3 separate regions of the Homo sapiens genome follow, and regions 1 and 2 are each linked to region 3. Evidence: promoter capture Hi-C in human tissues and cell types (Jung and others, 2019). All regions are on one chromosome and are shown on one strand. The core of a region is centred on a gene start or on the middle of the fragment in contact, and the rest is flanking DNA. Distances in the headings are between cores, read along the strand shown.

Evidence for each region. Contacts are between HindIII fragments. The study calls those that stand out against the background at their distance.
Region 1: a contact is called between a fragment that was not itself captured here and the fragment with the promoter of CAAP1 in region 3, in 1 of the 25 tissues and cell types used here (aorta).
Region 2: a contact is called between a fragment that was not itself captured here and the fragment with the promoter of CAAP1 in region 3, in 1 of the 25 tissues and cell types used here (aorta).

What each region holds. Positions count from the first base shown.
Region 1 is chr9:27,179,950-27,183,944 of GRCh38, reverse strand. TEK (TEK receptor tyrosine kinase) reads right to left here. Exons shown (of 23, transcript NM_000459.5): 7 at 3,577-3,705; 8 at 335-486. Among named protein-coding and RNA genes, the nearest start is that of TEK, 73 kb to the right of the region's middle. The HindIII fragment of the contact is 4,280 bases long and covers 210-3,995 here.
Region 2 is chr9:27,202,537-27,206,329 of GRCh38, reverse strand. TEK (TEK receptor tyrosine kinase) reads right to left here. Exons shown (of 23, transcript NM_000459.5): 13 at 3,211-3,510; 14 at 1,265-1,419. Among named protein-coding and RNA genes, the nearest start is that of EQTN, 93 kb to the left of the region's middle. The HindIII fragment of the contact is 5,966 bases long and covers 1-3,793 here.
Region 3 is chr9:26,891,019-26,895,395 of GRCh38, reverse strand. It overlaps CAAP1 (caspase activity and apoptosis inhibitor 1), which reads left to right and starts at 2,594. Exons shown (of 6, transcript NM_024828.4): 1 at 2,594-2,983. The coding sequence starts at 2,681. RefSeq lists enhancers at 2,365-2,434, 2,036-2,615, 2,565-2,784, 2,865-3,044, 2,616-3,195. The HindIII fragment of the contact is 6,456 bases long and covers 1,578-4,377 here.

The sequences.
Region 1 (3,995 bases), core at 1,100-3,599, 290 kb before region 3:
ACTGCGAGAGCAAAGCTTTGCACAGATTGACACGTACTTCTCCCCATACCAGCTGGACAGTCCTGCAGGATGTGTGCCATCCTTGGCACCCAGCTCTGTCAGTTCCCCAGGAGGCATATTCCCAACCATGCAGAGCAGTACTGGCCAACAGAAGAAATCAGTGAGGCTGCAGTGAGTCAGTTCTGCCTCTCCAGGAATAGGGCATTTTATCAAAGCCAACAACACACTAGCCTAGGAGGATAAAAGCACTGAATGGTATCTATCATTTAGTGGGGTGATTACTACACTGAAGCATCTCATGCTTTAAGAAGGGCAAATTAAGAATGGCTCTTACATGGAGCACTGTCCCATCCGGCTTCACCAGGGTCATTTCTTCATTAGTAGGTAGCGGCCAGCCAGAAGCTTTGCAAATGGGATTAAATTTACCACTGTTTACTTCTATATGATCTGGCAAATCCACTATCTTTGGGGTCATCCTCTGTATGCCTGAAGGAAGAAAACAGCACTGTGAAATCTAATATTTAACAGAGCCAGCAGCAGTAGTAATAATAAAAATAGCTACTTTAGTAAGTCATGCACCGGGCAAGAACTTTGCAAATATTTTACTGTTTTGTCATCACATAAGACACCTGTGATGTGGATGATATTGTGGTCTCCCATTTTATGGATGAGGAGACAGAGGCTCACAGCCCAGATTCAGACTCAGATCTTTATAAATCCAGAGTCCACGCTCTTTGCCATGAGGCTGTGCTCCTTTCATGGACCAGGGAGGAACAGTCTCAATATTAAAATGATTATCATGGCCATATCTCCCCTAGACTTTGCTGTTCAATCCCCCTCTTTCTTTTTACATGAATGATTACAAAAATACAACAAACAAAAAACTAGTTCTTCCTCCACTCATCAAATAACCCCATGGTATTGCTGTTCAACAGCATTGACCTCAGTTTAGATATACGAGAGATGTCTCATTCATTGGGAAGTCTGCAAATAGCAGATAACTAAGAGGAAAAGGTGAATAAAGTTGCTCACAAAAGAAGTACATCAAAGAAGTGAAATATAACTTCCCCAAATCAGTATCCACTCAACAGCCAAATCAAAAATGTTGCTGCCAATATTGAAAGAAGGAAAAATGTCTGTAGTGTCAATAAAGGTAATGGTGTCAGGATTTCTTGCCTAACATCTACACAGTAGAGAATGAATAACCCTGAAATATACCAATTTTATTCTGAACCATAGGGACTCAGGGAACTGTGGACTATTTGTAATTGAATGTGAGACATGTTTGAAAATTGTCCAACACTCAGTAAACAATGTAGGCGATAGAGGTGCCCTCAGAGCAGCAGTAACTACAGACTGTTTCTTATCGGTGGTGGGAAGAGGCGGGGTCAATAATGATATTTTATACTGATATCCTACTTCTCAGGCCTAGAATGAAATGGGTAAAGGTGTGGAGGAGAAGGGAAAGAGGTCTAATACTTACAAGGTTATTCCTTGATATATCTGTAAACTTGGAAAGATTATGGAAAACGTGCCAAGTTTTTCAGCCTAAGTAGCTATTTGAATAGGAATTGAAAAACATGTTTTGACACTTTTAAAGCATTTCTTTCCTTCATCGTCCCCTTGTATTTTCTGAAGCTGGGTGGGGGTGAAGGTGGATGTGCTGGGCTAAAGTGGAATCTGGGAAGGGAGCTACTCTCTGAAAGCCCTAGTGACACCCTGGTTAACCTGTCTTAGATTCTCCCATCAGAATGCACTCCTTTTGCAGCATCAGCAGAAGGGAACAGACGGGAAGGAACAAAGCACAAAATTCAAATCCTTAAACTTGTTAGCTGCCCACGTTCAATACAATCCCCTAGTAGCCCCATGGCATTTCCTTCCCTTTCTAACCACTCCCTGATTCCTGCCCTGTAGTAAAGTCCAGGCTTGGCAAAAGAAGAAAAAATATAAAGTTTAAGGACTTTGAGAAAACACTTACTGGCATCCCACCCCCACTCCCAATATTTGTTCTGATTTCCAAAAGTAACAGAAAAAAAGGCCATAGCTGTATTATTGTGAGTGTAGATTTCACTGGATATGTATTTATTTCAATGGCATTTATATTTATATGATTGAAAAAGCAATACATATTTATTAAGTTTGAAAATACATATGTCTGCTTCTTTTAATTTTAAAAAGTATATTCTACGACAGTGGATAGCAAACATTTTCTGTAAAGAGAGCAAATACAGTCAGCTTTGCAAGCCATGTTTTCTGCCCTTGTAGTACAAAAGCAGCCACAGACGACATACTATAAATGAATGGAGGTGGCTGTGATCCAAAATTTTTTTCTTTATAATAACAGATGGTGAGAAATAAAAAAGGAATGAAGTACTGATACATGCCACAACATAGATAAACCTCAAAAAAGGTGTGGCAAATGAAGCTAGTCACAAATGACGACGTATTATACAATCTTGTTTACAGCATATAAAATGTCAAGAACAGGCAATCTACAGAGACAGAAGATATGGTTGACCCTTGAACAATACAGGCTTCAACTGCATGGGTCCACTGACATGTGGATTTTTTTCAATAAATATATTGGAAAATTTTTTGGAGATTTAGGATAATTTGAAAAAACTCACAGACAAACTGTGTAGCCTAGAAATACCAAAAAAATTAAGAAAAAGGTATGTCATGAAGGCATAAAATATATACAGATACTAGTCTCTGTGTTAATTGACTATGTTATTGGTAAGGCTTCTCGTCAACAGAAGGCTATTAGTAGTTAAGTCTTTGGAGAGTCAAAAATTATATGTAGATTTTCTACTGCGAGAAGGGTCAGTACCCCTAGCCCCCATGTTGTTTAAGGTCAACTGCAAATAAATGGTTGTCAGAAATTAGGATGATTGGAAAATGGAAGTTTCTATTAATGGGTACAAGGTTTGTTTTGGTATGATGAATATGTTGTAAAATTAGATTATGGCAATGATGGCATAGCTCTGTAAATATACTAAAAACCACTGAATTTACATTTTAAAAAGTTGAACATTATAATATAAAAAATGTATCTCTATAAAGCTGTTTAAAAAAAGATAGTGGGCTGGATTTAGTCTGTGGGTTAAAGTTTGCTGACTCCTGCTGAAGAGTAACTTCTGAACTAGAATGACATAAAATTTCATTTTGAGCATAATCTTTTCTATTTGTTTTATTCTTTCTATTGCTTTAAAAATATCCCCTGTCTAAATCCATCCCAAATTGCTCTTTCTCTGTTACGCATGTCCAGGGAAAAGGTTGGTCCTAGAGAAGGGAGCAGAAAAGGTAGGAGAGCTCTCAGCTGGCCAGTCATCACTTAAGCTGCTACAAAGAGCACGTGGTTTATGCCTAGTGCAAAGACAAATAAAGCCTACTATTAGGGTCAGTAGAGCAGAATTAAAATGCTGTGCTTTAGGATTTAGGATAAACTATTCCCAACTTCTGGATGGAAACAAAAGAGGCTTGAGGATCTTAGAATGCCGGCACAAGAATTACACTACCAAAGCTCAGTTCAGACATGCTGAACATGGCCCTGACTACAGTGTTACCTTGCTTTACCTTCTCTCTCACACTGGAGCCCCTGCCATCCTGGAGAGCAGAGACATCCTTGGAAGCGATCACACATCTCCCCATTGTTGCAGCTGCACCTAAGCTTACAATCTGGCCCGTAAAAACCAGGGTGGCATGCTGTAAACAGAGACATCAAAAAACCAGTATTAATCCAGGGGAAGAGAGGAAACTAAGACTGCAGGTGTTTAGTTTTATTTTTCTCTCTAAGCCATCAACTTTGCTGATTTGTGTAAGGTAGGGGGTAATTTATCTGAATTACCAGGAACTTAAAAAGCTGGGGAGTTATGCTTCCAAAAAAAGTTGAATGAGCTCCTATCATGCCAACTTTCTTGTAGGTACAACTACATTTAGAAAATAACTTCCTGAAAGCACTTAAGAGTGGGATAGGAAGAAAAAAGACCTGGAAG
Region 2 (3,793 bases), core at 180-2,679, 310 kb before region 3:
GAAGGAGTAACAGTACATATTCCATGTGTTTGCCATCCTTGCGTTAGTTGTACGTGAGTTCCCTACAGTGTTGTGAAATGAGCAAGCGTTCAGTTCTGGTTTGGAAACTAACTTGGAGAGCCTATGTGGGGCAGCCACAGGATGCGCCTCAGTGAGAGCTTTCTTAGCATTATCTTGATCCTACTCTATTTTTAGTGCACACTCTTTCTCTCTCGTAGTAAGGCTTAGAATCTCTAAGTCCACTCTGGCCACAAGATGATTGAAGCTTAGAGCCAAACCCAACACAGTATCTCTTTCTCCTGAATTCAAATAGCTGCTGGTGCTACCATGAAAAAGCACCGGTATTTTGACAGGCTCAGCACTCCCAACCCCCTTGCTGGCCCTTCTTCTCCAGCGACAGCCTGAATTGAGCCAGCTCTGGCATGGAGTCAGATAGTGAAGTTCCTCTTGTCCTCCGTGGAAGGGAAACTCGGGGACTCATGCACATGGGGTACACCTCATTTGAATCATTGCACTCAATGCATTATATACAGAATTGATAAAGTCTGGTTCAAATTAATTTTACAGGGCCTGAACCCACAAACTAGATACATTTTCAGGCTTTAGTATACCAAAAGAACTCAAATAAGATGCCTCTTGGTAAAGTGTGATTTTTATAGGCCTTTGCTACTGGTTAGAATTCCTAGATGAAAAAAAAAATGAGGCAGTACCAAGTGCCAGGAACTCTGACTTCAGACTGAGGGTACACAGGAATGGAAGACACACACAGGTATATACAATTCTTACACATACGAGGGGTGATAAGATTGAGGGACTTACTAGAAAGAAATGGGAACTGGAAATAGGCAAATGTGAGGAAAACTTGTCTAATATATTACGTCATTACCTATCTCACTGAGGTCTGGTTACCCTCTGTCCTTCCTTACCAAAAATGTTCAATTTATTCTGTTGCAAGATATCATCTCTGGGGACTTACTACTAGGATGACCATATGTCTCATTTCAGCAGGCAGGGGCAGACCTAGTTTCCTGCATAATTTACTAAGAGCACCCTTTTCACTCTCAAAATTGTTCTGGTTTGGATAAGAAATTAAAAAGTCATACTTTTTATCTCCCATTTCATAATGAAAGCCAAAGAGAAGATGAGGCTTGCCTAAGGGAAATATTTACTTTATAAGTAAATTTCCTGGTCCATATCTTTAAAGTGAAGGTTCTGCCTGTACTTGGACTTGCCCTTATTAGCTAGTAGGAAGATGAGACACTACCACGTTTTGGAAGGCTTGGGCCATTCTCCTTTGCACATTTGCCCTCTTCAATTGCAATATGATCAGAAAGGCCAACAGCACAGTCAGGCAGGTCATTCCAGCAGAGCCAAGGATGGCTATAAGCAGCATCTTCCCCCCTCCGAGGTCCGCTGGTGCTGTGCAGGAAGACAGAGGTGAAGCAGGTAGTTTAGTTTACATAGAGAAACAGACCCACACCGTATGTGGGAGAAGACACAGTGTAATGGGAACTTAACAGCAGCCTTAACCCTGCCACCTAACCACTATATGACCTCGGGCTACTCATTTATATTCCAAACTCAGTGGAGATGAGTCTGACTCACAGGGTTGTAATAAGATTAAAAAAAAAAAAAACATGCAAAAGTGCTGTTACAATTAGCAATATGCTAATCATTAGTTGTCATTTGTTCAACTTTTATTTCCAAGTAGAATCCCAAGCAAATGAACAATGTTGAATAATAGGGAGAATTACTACAGGTATAACTTTGAGAGAGTGACTAAACCTCCCTAAACCTCAATTTCCCCACCTAGAAATGCTTTAAAGTTCAATGATGCTAAGAGCTTACAGTCTATCAGGTATTTTGTTTTGTTTGTCTTGTTTTAATGAGTTAATGAAGAAAACCTAATGATACCCAATAGAAGAAGAGAGAGAGGGAGGGAGGAAGACAGGAAAAGACAGAGGAAAAATTAAATTTAGGGCTCAGGTCAAAATAAACTATTAAAGACTATGGTCAAATCTATTTCTTTTCCTTATTTAAATAAAATTAAACTCGATATATTTTTATTAGCAATAGCACATAGAACATGATCTCGTCCTCTTAAAAGTATCCCTCTCTTCTCATTTATCTTTTCTTCTATCTCTATATATGTACAGATACAGAGATGTCTAGAATGGTGAGAAACTTTTGGTTTTGTCTTGTTTTAAAAGTTTTCTCTTGGTATTTTATGTATAGCTTGAATTTAGGAAGTTACATTTCGCCAAAACACAAGTAATTACAAAAATGGGGCATTCACTAAGAGTGTGACCTGAAAACCATGATTTTCTATATTTGGCAGACTCTTCATTCCTTGAGCATTTCAAAAATGTTCCAAAGAATCAGCACTGTTAAAGCGACTTGTTTGATTTTGTTTCTTAAGGTCTAGGTAATCCTCCAAGAGAACCAAGAAGTTTTCAGATTTAGTTATAGTATTTTCTTTAAAAACAGACTGTAATCCAAATCATAAATTTTCAAAACTTGCCTCTAACGTGCCTCCATCTACATTCTCTGGCACACATTGTACACAACACAGAGAGCCGGGAGGTGCCTCTGCACAGACTTGAAGTCAATCCTCCTGCTGCAGCTCCACCCACATGGGACCCTTGTTCACTTAATTACACTCAACAGACTTTATCAATCACAAATGGTGGGCACAGTATGGCATCCAGAGAGGATCTCTATCTAGCTCAAATCACATACTTTTCCTGGGGTTGGGGTTAGTGGTGGACATGGAATAACCTGCATCAGTAAAGTAGAAGAAGACTCAGAATTGCACAATGTCATCCAAGCTAAAAAAAGGAGTGTTTGAGGAAGAATGGAGCATGGTTCTTGGAGCCTCCTACTGGAGCTCTTGCATAGCTTGCCTTCTATAAGCAGCTCCCACATTCTTCTTTCTCCTAGGAATTAAAATTCATATTCCTCAGAGCTTTCTTCTTAGATTGCTGGATGGGGTATGCTGATAGACTGATCTATTCTAAGGTTCAATAATAGAAAACGGACCAACAGGGATCCTTCTCAGAGGCATTTTGATATTAAGGACCTCTCTGTAAATGCCTGTCCATTCAACCACCGACTTTTCATAGGCTTTCATCTCACAGGCCTGTCCTGATAAACCAGCTGCCTATAGGGCTGCACGGTAATCCTATGTAAATACTTGTCCATTCAACCAACCTTGAGATTCTGGGAGGGTCACCAGTTCATGAGAAAAGGCTGGGTTGCTTGACCCTATGTTGTTCTCTGCAAAAATGTCCACCTGGTATGCTGTTTCAGGCTCTAGGCCCTTGAGCTGATACTGAGTGATGGTGGCATTCTTTATCTTCACATCAACGTGCTGGTCTTCATTCTTGCCTTGAACCTTGTAACGGATAGTAATAGAAGAAATAGAATAGCCATCCAATATTGTCCAAGAAATCACAGCTGAGGAGTGTGTAATGTTGGAAATCTTGATGTTTTCTGGTTGAGGAGGAAGAACTAGAAATTAAAAAGAAAAAAGATTCACTTAAGATATACTACCATGGCCTAGATCATTATGCTTTTGAGATAGAGTTCATGTCAGCTCATATAAGGCAAACAAATGTTTTCTCATATGGTACCCCAATCAATTGGTAGTGGCTACTGGACTCCACGCAGACTTGAAAGAGTGGCACAGACAGAGAAATGGCAACACATATCATCTATCTGTCATCTTGACACTAAATGAAGGCCTTAGAAATTCTGTTATTCCACAAACCTGTACTTACTATTCTTGATGCTG
Region 3 (4,377 bases), core at 1,345-3,844:
CACCATGCCTGGCCCAGACTCTTCTTTTAATAAGGACACCAGTTATATTAGATTAGGGACCCACCCTTATGACTTCATTTAACCTTAATTACCTCCTTAATGACCCTATCTCCAAATTCAGTCACATTGGGGTTAGGGATTCAACATATGAATTCTGTGGGTGATGTTATAGGACCATCAGGTTCTATTAACCACTACATGGTACCAGACCAATACATGGAAACAGCAGGAGTTGCAGCAGAGAAAGAGTTTAATAATGGTATGCCAGCCAAGGGAGAAGATGGGAGGGAACCTCAAATCACCTCCCCAGTAAGTTTTTGGACAGGGGTTTTTAAGGGAATTTTGGTGGGTAGGGGGCTGAGGAGCTAGGGGTTGCTGATTGGTTAGGGCATGGGGGATGTAATCATAAGGAGGTAGAAAGTGCATTCTTGTGCTGAGTTCGTTTCTCAGAAGGGGTCTTCAGACTGAGTAGCATCAGTGACCCCACTGATATGGTTCCAATGACTGGAGGAACACCACAGTCTTTTGTCTCGTGCTGGTTTAAATAAAACGATACAGACACAAGTGGAATTGTTTTAAGGAGCGGAGAATTTAATAGGCAAGAAAGAAGAGGCTCCCTCATACAGAACCAGAGGGAAGAGGGCTCCCAGATGAAAGAGGGAACCTTGGGTGCAGCAGACAAGAGCCAGTTATATTATGAGGCTGGAGGAGGTGGTGACTAATTTGCATATGACCCAGGGAATTGGTTTGACCAGGTATGTCATTCACGTAGCCTGCAAAAAAAGTGGCCCTCCCACCCTAGCCTTTTAATATGCGAATGTAGGGTGCCACAATGTTCTACACATGTGGGGATATGTGGGGATGGCCATGTTGCTAGGCACATGTGGGGACAAGAAGAAGAGGGGAATCGCCATACTGAGTAAACCCAGTTTCTAACGGCCTGCATTTGCATATCATAGCTTGCCAGCCCAGCTTTTTTGCTAGACAAGAAACATTTCTGGAGCTGCTTTAAAAGAAAAAAAACTTCCCAAAGACCCCTTTACCTCTCTATCTGCCTAAAATAATTTCTTAACTTCTGTAACACCATTGGAGTACAGAATCTGGTAAATATCTCAAAATGGAAAACTTGAGATTTCTTAACCGAGTCAAAGATATCTATAAAGCAATAAGCAGCTATAAGGAAGTGGGCTATAGGAAAAGTTGGTTAACGTTTAGCTATGCTTCTACTAAAAGCTTATCTTTTGTCACAAATCCAGCAATTTGGCAGGGCACGATGGCTCACGCCTGTAATCCCAGCACTTTGGGAGGCTGAGGCGGGTGGATCACCTGAGGTCGGGAGTTCGAGACCAGCCTGACCAACATGGAGAAACCCCTTGTCTACTAAAAATACAAAATTAGCCCTGCATGGTGGCGCATGCCTGTAGTCCCAGCTACTCAGGAGGCTGAGGCAGGAGAAATGCTTGAACCCGGGAGGCGGAGGTTGCAGTGAGCCGAGATTGTGCCATTGCACTCCAGCCTGGGCAACGAGAGTGAAACTCCGTCTCAAAAAAAAAAAAAAGAAAAAAGAAAAAATCTAGCAATTTAGTTTTATTAAAATTATGATGGTTTCAGGGACACAATTCATAACAGGTTTATAAATGTAACATGTTATTAATTTTATGTGTTTTTCCTATCTGTGAACACAACACTCTCAATCCTTTCAGGTATGACTCCAATGAGTGTGATACTTAACGGAACTCCTGGGAACACAGTGGGCTCAGCCCCAGGATTTACCTTACAAGGCCAATTTAAGAGTGGGGCCTGGGGGAAGACAGTTTTCCTAGGGCTGGAAGTGTCCCTATTTATTAACCCTAGGCTGGTTTTAGGCATTTAAGTAGTTGTTGAATGACTGAGACAAATAGGAGACAAAGAGAAGGGAAGCTTCTTTAATTGCTTCTTACCCCAGGGAAAGGCACAGAATTACTACCACCCAGCTAGCTTTGCCCCAGGCTCTACCTTTTTCCCTCAGTGGCTAAAGGCCCCTGCTGAAACGACAAAGACCTTGGTTCACGTTTTAAGTGTTCTAGCTCCCTTGTCTTAAAATCTGCCTTCTATTTAGATTACATCCACCCATAAAATCTCATAAAGCTTTGACCCATTCTCAATTTTCAAAAACGAACTCAAGCTCTACTTGTCCATGTCAGACTCTACGCAAGAAATACCTAATTTGCCCAGGTGATGAGGAAAATGAGATGGAACAACTTTTCCCTATTCTCTTTATTGTCATAGCGTTGTTAATATCTTAAGATTTGGAGGTAAACGGAAATGGAGAATCAGCAACTATACTTCAACCTTATTGTAAACAGACAAAACACTAACAATAAAAAGTTTTGAAGTTAAAAGGACGTAAGTTCCACCTTCTATCCTTTGTAGAGATATAAAAACAAAACAAAACAAACTCTGACTAGACAGGCTACCCGCTACACACTCAAATCGACCTCCGCGACCGGAGGGGGAAGCGCAACTGGTTATGGCAACCCCCCTGCCACCCCGGCCCATAACGCTTCACCACGTTCTGTGCCACGGCCGGAAGTGACGCATAACCTGCGACGCCAGTGCCTGCCGCCCACGGCCGCAGGAGTCGGGCTTCGGTCGCACCAGAGACAGCGGACTTTCCTCCGATGGTTGCAGCAGAGGGATCATGACGGGGAAAAAGTCCTCCCGGGAGAAACGGCGCAAACGTAGCAGTCAGGAGGCGGCCGCAGCGCTCGCGGCCCCGGACATCGTACCCGCGTTGGCCAGCGGCAGCAGTGGAAGCACTAGCGGCTGCGGGAGCGCCGGGGGCTGCGGGAGCGTCAGCTGCTGTGGGAACGCCAATTTTAGTGGAAGTGTCACCGGCGGTGGGAGCGGCGGCAGCTGTTGGGGCGGGAGCAGCGTGGAGCGCAGCGAGCGCCGGAAGCGGAGGAGTACCGACTCTTCCAGCGTCTCGGGCTCCTTGCAGCAGGTGCGTGCGCGCCCCTCTGGCCGCTTCCTGGAGCTGCTGCTTTTTCGGAAGAAGTCGGGCTTCCAGAGGGATGGGGCGCAGGCTGGAGCTCACTGCTAGCGCGGCAATCTCAAGGTCGTCCGTCCTTGAGGTTCATGTTCCTACCTAAGTCCTGGTGAGCCCCACACTCCCATCCGTGTCTTGAATCTTGAACTTCAAGTTTCTGGATTTCCTGATCACTTTTTTTTTAATTTATTTTTTAAACTCTTGGCTCCTTCCACTCCTATGGTTTCACTCTGCCGGAAGAATACGAGTTGGAAGCTAGCCTTCATTTCCCTTGCGAGCCAAACACTTCTCCCTTCGTCTTCACCTTTTCGTAGATATGGTTAACTCCGCATTAGAGATAAGAAAATTGAGGCCCAAAGAAGTTAAACTTTACCCACGGTCACAGAGTTTGTTAATAGCTCCTAGGTTTGAATCCAAATATCTGACTACAAAAGCCATGTTCTTTATACGCCACCAGTCTGCCAAGAGAACGCCGTTTTAAAAAAGTTCATAATTTGTTTGAAAACAAATGAATGAATAGGTACTTTAAATTCATTCAATGAGGAAATAAAGGGAAAGCGTCAAGTCCCTTTTCTTGCCCCTCCATTAGTATTTTGATACGCGGCCTCTTTTAATCACTCCTCGTGAGATACGTGTTTTTAAGTTCCTACACTTAAGCTGTATTGTGTTATTCCCGCTGTTGAATACCTGCATTGTTGTGATAGGCTTCTTTATATACGTGGTTTGTTATTTTTACTGACTGCCTGGTATTGTATTATATTTTTCTGATATTTGGGTGTGCAGGTTTTTTTGTATTGTTGTGACTACAATACAAACACCTTTATGTATATATCTCCTACAAGAGTTATGTTGGGAGAGAGTGTGAGAACTGAAATTCCTGGGTCAAAGTTTATGCTATTAAAAACTTATGAATGCCACCAAATGCTTTCCAAATGAGACTTTACAGATTTATAGTCCAAACAGTATATATATAAGAATACCTATTTCTGAGATTCTTAACTAGCTTTTGATGACATTTTGATGGCATTTTTTAAAAAAATTGCCAGACTAGTGGGTCAAATTAATAGTTTGTTTTAATTTTTATTTTCCTTATTAGTGAGATTGAACATTTTAATATTTTTATTTGCCATTTGATTTCTTCTTATGTAATTTTCTGTACATATCCTCTGCTCATTATTCTCTTTGGTAGAGTAGAAACAGTTTATGTAGAGATTTTATCAGGTGGTTTTCTGGCATTCTGTTGAGATGATCACATACTTTTTCTCCTTTAGTCAGATAATGTAATTTGTTGATAAGTTAGTTGATGTTGAACAGTCTTTGGAGTCTTGGGACAAGTGCTGTTTGGTTTG